2 separate regions of the Homo sapiens genome follow, and region 1 is linked to region 2. The links are contacts of gene promoters, found by promoter capture Hi-C in blood cells and fetal thymus (Javierre and others, 2016). All regions are on one chromosome and are shown on one strand. Each heading gives the region's core, a stretch centred on a gene start or on the middle of the fragment in contact. The rest is flanking DNA. Distances are from core to core; before and after follow the strand shown.

The links. The method cuts DNA at HindIII sites, captures the fragments that hold promoters and counts their contacts. A CHiCAGO score of 5 or more calls a contact.
Region 1: a fragment that was not itself captured here is called in contact with the fragment with the promoter of C1QTNF1 in region 2 in 1 of 17 cell types (M0 macrophages); the score reaches 5.3 in M0 macrophages.

The regions. Positions count from the first base shown.
Region 1 is chr17:79,370,295-79,373,522 of GRCh38, forward strand. All of the region lies in intron 2 of RBFOX3 (RNA binding fox-1 homolog 3), which reads right to left. Among named protein-coding and RNA genes, the nearest start is that of RBFOX3, 240 kb to the right of the region's middle. The HindIII fragment of the contact is 1,757 bases long and covers 1,044-2,800 here.
Region 2 is chr17:79,022,563-79,025,425 of GRCh38, forward strand. It overlaps C1QTNF1 (C1q and TNF related 1), which reads left to right and starts at 1,607. Exons shown (of 4, transcript NM_030968.5): 1 at 1,607-1,932. All of the region lies in intron 1 of C1QTNF1-AS1 (C1QTNF1 antisense RNA 1), which reads right to left. RefSeq lists a silencer at 1,939-2,028. The HindIII fragment of the contact is 3,178 bases long and covers 61-2,863 here.

The DNA.
Region 1 (3,228 bases), core at 672-3,171, 350 kb after region 2:
CCAGCAGGGCCAGAGCCCCACCCAGTGCCTGAGCCCCACCCAGGGCCTCACTTGACACTTGCAGAATGCACTTGCTGCCACCTCAATGCTGTGGCCAAGGTGGACACATCCGACCATGCTCACATGCTCACATACACATGCACACACCCTGATGTGCACAGTCACATACTAACATACACTCACACACGTGCTCACTCACACAGGCACACACACGTACACGTCTCTGGTACACCCTGAAATGCACACATACACTAACATACATACATGTGTGCTCACTCACACAGGCACACACACGTACACGTCTCTCATACACCCTGACATGCACAGTCACATACACTAACATACATACATATGTGTGCTCACTCACACAGGCACACACATGTACACATCTCTCATACACCCTGAAATGCACGGTCACATACACTAACACATACGTGCTCACTAACACACACAGGCCTACGCTCACATACACACGCACATGTCTCATGCATACACCTTGACTTGCAGTCACACTCACTCACACACAAGCTCACTCACATATGCACACAGGCACATGCACACACATGCTTCTCTGGGTCCTTAGTTCCCAGGGCCAAGCACCTTATCTGGAGAAACCAGTGCCCCCATGTGGGGCCAAGCCAAGAACACCTGGAGCTCCCAGCAGGTGCTTGTGACTGGGAAGGCACCTTTCCTCTCCTCCCCCGGTAGGGGGTTAGGGAGGGAAGGGGGACATGCACGGCAGGGGACTTGGGGAGGCATGCACGGTGGGGTGGCTTCCCAGGCCAGCACGGTGTCCCTCCTCCTGTCTGGGTGTCCCTGGGCCACCTGCTCTGCACTGGGGCCTGGGACCTCCTTCTCTGCCTTTCTTCACTGAGGGACCATGGCGAGGGGCCACAGTGGCGGCCCTGTTGCCTCCATGGGGCAGATTAACCCCACTTTGCTCTGCCTGGGCACCTGGGTTTGGAAGGTTCTGGTACGTTCCACTGTGAAATGGGCACATCCGAAGGGCTGTGAATATCTTGCTGCTTTAGAACAAATGAGGAAGCTTTGCCCGTGGCCAGATTCCAGAGGAGCCCAGGGCTTCCGTCTTCCTCAGCTGAGTGCCCATGCTCGCCCTCCCCTTTCCTGCTCCCTGTGGGGGCAAGAGCTCCCTGGCTGCAGAGTGGCCCTTGTTGCTGGGCTCCATAGACCCCATGCAGTCTATCAGGGGCTTTGGCTCCTGAAGGCAGAGCACTCCTTGCTGCTCCTGACACCACTCTGTTTAAAGAGAAAATCGAGACGCCCAGAGTGTCCAGCAGTCCCTAGGGTTAGGGGCCACTCGATGAGGAAGGTCCCACCAACCAAATGTGGTGGGGGGACACGTGTCATCTCCAGGACACCCCCAGCAGCCCTCACGCTCTTTCCTCTTCTCGAAAATGTGGAAACCACGTGTTAAAGATGGCAGATCCTGCAAGTGGGAGGGACTGGGGCTTGGGGTCACCCTTGGGAGCAGAGCCTCGCCCTGGTCAGCCGTGCCCTGAGGGACCTGGCATGGTGAGAAGCGTGTCTCTGCTGTGTCACGACACTGAGATGGGGAGCTGGCTGTCCCCGCAGAAAGCATTGTTCAATTCATACCAAAACCAGGATCAGAGGATCGAGGCTCCTAAGCAGGCCAAGGAGAGGTGCAGAGCAACCACAGCCCACAGGCAGGTTCGGGGAGACCCTCCCCGCAGACGCTTCAGTTACAGGCAGGTTCGAGGAGACCCTCCTCGCAGACGCTTCATTTGGGCCTAGCACGGTGAATGCACCCTCTAAACGCCAGTAACTGCGAGGATGACTGTGGCCACGGCAGCCCTCAGCAATGCGCTGCCCGGTGCTGTGAGGGCTCCTTCCCCAGGAACAGCCTGCCCCGGACAGCACTGCCTGCCCGCAGGACTCTGTCAGCTGGCTCCCCAGCCTGTCCTATGGCCTCCCCATACTATCCCCGGCAATCCTATGGCTCCCCTGGGTCCTATAGCCCCTCTATACTATAGACCCCCCCCTGTCAAATCCCCCCCATCCTATGTCTCCTCCCAGGTCCTACAGGCCCCACCTCCCCATCCTGTGGATCCCCCTAAGCCCTATGGGCTCCCCCATCCTATGGCTCTCCTCAGTCTTATGACCCCCCAGTTTTATGTCTCCCCCCTGGACTTATGGGCCAGTCCATGGCTCCGCCTCTGTGTGATGGATGCTCCCAAGGCCAGGCCTGGCCCGGGCTCCCACCCCTGCGGGTCTTTCTCCATTCTAAATCCCCCCCAGATCCCTGCCAGGATGAACAGCCTAGCTCAGCCCAGTCTCCTGGCTGGAGGCTCTGGGATGTCAGCTCCCCCATGTTTCCTGGGGACTTCCTCCCCACCCACAGGGGCAGGGCAGGGACAGACGTGTGAGACACACCTGATTAACCCTTCTCATGCTCCAGAAAAAGGGGAGTCTGGGCAGGGACTGTTGCCCACCTTTGCGTGGGCATCAGGAGGAACCAGCATAGAGGTAGAGCTGCGTGTCCAACTGGCCGCAGGTGTGCTGGGGGAAGCTGACAGAAAACATGAGTCTGTTCCTGAGATTTTTCTGGTGCAATTGCGTGAAATGAGTCTATAACGCAGAGCAAGACAGGGCAGAAGGTGGGCGGGGACTGGCAGGAGTCAGGGGCTGATAAGGAACAAGGGCCAGCAATTAGAGCCCAGCCCAGGGTGGATGGGGCCGGCCCACTGGACTTTTATCTCACTCCTCGGAAGAGGAAGCTCACGTCGCCTCTCAGCAGGTGGGGCAGAGGCCTGGCCTCCAAAGCTTGCAGAGACAGGGGTGACGGCAGGGGAGCAGGTTGATTCCAACCCCATTTCCATGTGTTACAAATGCACCGGACTCCCCCAGCTGTGGCCCAGGCCTCAGGTCCATGAACCCCTCCAAGTTCTTCCCTCTGTCCTCCCCACCCCTACGGCCCCCACACATACATACTCAACTCCAGCTCCTTAAGGGCCTAGTCGACACCTCTCCCCACATTTCCATTTGGAGAAAATGAAGCTCAGAGAGGGAAGGGGGCTTGCCAAGGACCCAGCCCAACCCTACCAGGCACTCGGGCTGGGCGTGGGAGCATGTCACGTGCTCAGAGCCTCTGATCATGAATGGCAGCACCAGCCTGAACCCATCCTGGCTCCATTCAGAACACACCTGAAATCCTTTCTCCAAAGTGCTCTGTGAAATGGGTCAGAGGGG
Region 2 (2,863 bases), core at 357-2,856:
GCTAAGCCTTGCTCCTGGTGACTGGGAAACTTCCTCATGTCACTTACAGGAATGGAGACAAGCTTATCTCTGGCTTTTCCTGTATCAATAAGCAACCAGGGATGTAGGTTTTGCCAAGCCTCAGACACGTATGCCAAGAACACAAGCAACCCCTGATCTTCTAAGCCTAGCGGAGGCTGCATCTCTAGTTGGTTAAGTAGTGTTGACTTCATATCCCCATCGTGTCCTCTGAGTTCCCCCTGGGTGCTGGAGGCCTGGCAGCCTTTCTCCCTGTACTCACAGGAGGGGTTGACGCATGCAGTCAGGGCCTCTGTGGAGTGGCTTTTGGGCGCCTCGCCTGCCCGGAAGCCTCCCCTTCTGTTCTCATCTCCATTTGTCCTCAGCTCTACCTGAGTGCTGGCCTCGCCCAGCCTGGGGCAAGGCAGTGGGCATTGTGCTTGCACCCTCTTCTTCCTCTCCTTTTTGATTCTTTTCATCTGTCCAGTTGTTGGTGCGGCGGATGGGAGGACACTCCAGGCAGGGAAAGGTGAGGCCTCTTAGTTTTGCTCTGAATGTCCCAACCAGCATCCCCATTTTCGCATCTCCTGTTTGTCCAGAGACAGACCCTCACAGGAGGGATAACAAAACAAAAAAATCCAGCTGCAACATCGAGGTGAGGGGCAGCTCGGAGAGAACAGGGCAGAGGGGGGAAAAAAGAAGCAAAAAAAGGGGGAATGCTGTTATCATCAGAGCTGGCTTCTGCTTCTCTGGCCAAATCCTTCCCCTGCTAGTGATATGGTAAGTTTCCAGAGCAAGCTGGGCTGACGCAGAGTCTAGGGATGGAGACTGGGTCCCAACCAGGGCCGGCTCTGGAGCAGCCTGGATCAGGGATCAGGATGGGAGGGCAGCCTACGGGCCTTGTTCAGAAAAAATATTTGTGTATGACTGAGAAAATGTCAGGTTTTCATATCAAGGAATGAGAGGCCTGATAGAGACTGAGGAGTGCTTCCAGCCATCCTGGGCTCACCACTGTACTCGTGCTGTTCTCTAGAAAATGGAAATCTTCCCGGCAGGGGCTCCTTCCTAACCTTTAGATCACAGAGCTCTCAAGACTCTGAACAAAACAGTGGACCATCACCTTCCAAAGGTGATGCGCGCGCGCGCACACACACACACACACACACACACACACACACAGTTTGGCATTTTGTTATAGGGGGTTCACAGATTCCCCCAAACCTGTCTGAGTCCCCGATAATGCACAGGGCGTCTCAGGTCTGCCACTGTTTGGAGACCTGACCCCTCAGGGTTGGCCACAGCGGATCCCGGAGGCCTTGGGGCTCATCCCTCTGCTACCAAGTGACTAGGAGCGCTCAGCCTTGCTGGGCACCCCCATCCTGCGGGGGGCATTCTCGTCCGGGGCTCGCAGCCCCTCCGCCTCTGGACGGACCTCCAGACTCACGGAATCTGCCCCACCCCCACTCTCAGCCTGGCGGGCTCCCCAGGGGGCCGGGAGGAGGCGGCCGCTGGATTTCCCTGAGGCGCGGCGCGGGGCACACACGGTTAATCCTCCGCGGCTGCTGTTTGGACGAAAAGCGCTGGGGGTGTTGGAGGCTCCTCGCTGCTCACATCTGGCTGGGCTTCGCTCCTTGCGCGTCTGTCCCACTTTCTCCCTCTCTTCCTTTACTTTCGAGAAACCGCGCTTCCGCTTCTGGTCGCAGAGACCTCGGAGACCGCGCCGGGGAGACGGAGGTGCTGTGGGTGGGGGGGACCTGTGGCTGCTCGTACCGCCCCCCACCCTCCTCTTCTGCACTGCCGTCCTCCGGAAGACCTTTTCCCCTGCTCTGTTTCCTTCACCGAGTCTGTGCATCGCCCCGGACCTGGCCGGGAGGAGGCTTGGCCGGCGGGAGATGCTCTAGGGGCGGCGCGGGAGGAGCGGCCGGCGGGACGGAGGTAGGTGGCCGGGCCGGGGGACCCAGCGCTGCCCCGCCCCATCCTCGTGGCTTCAGCCTGGTGGCCAGGGCGGGGATGGCAGACACCTGGGCCGGGACGGACGGAGAGCGCCGTGGGAGGGGCCGGTTGGCGGTGGCGGCGCAGGGGCGGAAAGACCCGGGTTTTCGGGGGCAGCCCTGGCGTCTGGCTCTGGCTCAGCCCCCGCCATAGGCGCCTTTGCGCGGGGGTCATAATGGTCCCGGGTCTCCCTGACTGTGGAGGAGCGGGGCTTTTCTGCACGTGGATACTAACGGGAGGAATTGCACCTTCCCCCTAGTTTTTTGTGGGGTGTTTATCTTGTTTCACTGTTCTCTGGTGCCTTTCTGAGGGTGTGGAAGGAAGAGGAATGGTACTAATGCCCGCGGCTGCACCTGGCGGGGATGCCCTCACCCCACTCCTTATCACTGGGACCACCTGACCGCCGGGTCTGTCCAGTCCTGTCTGTGGCCAACCTGGACCTTCACGGAATAGGAAGCGCTGACTTTGGCCCCCCGCATCTGACAGCCTTGGTGTCCTGGAGGGGGTCCAGCTTGGGCAGGAAAAAACGGTGTTGCTTCCCCGGGGCCCTCCTGGGAAGCGAAGCTGCCTGTGCCGCTGGGAGTGGCCCCCCCGGCCTGGGGCTGGAGCCTCTGAGCCGCCCTGGGGCTTCTGGACCTCGCAGGTGGACCCACCGCCCACCACCCAGCCCTCCATGGCTTCTCCACCGGTGCAGGTGTGGTCCCCACTGTTAGCCCGGGCCTCGCGGGGCCAATACCCGGGCCACACTCTTCCAGCCCCAGAAAGCCAGATTATCTTCTCTGGACCCTCCGCGTGCTTCAGGCACCCTTGGGCCGACTCATCCCTGCTTGGGAGGGAGGGAGGAAGCCGCCCCCCTCTGTGAGGTGTTCCTGAC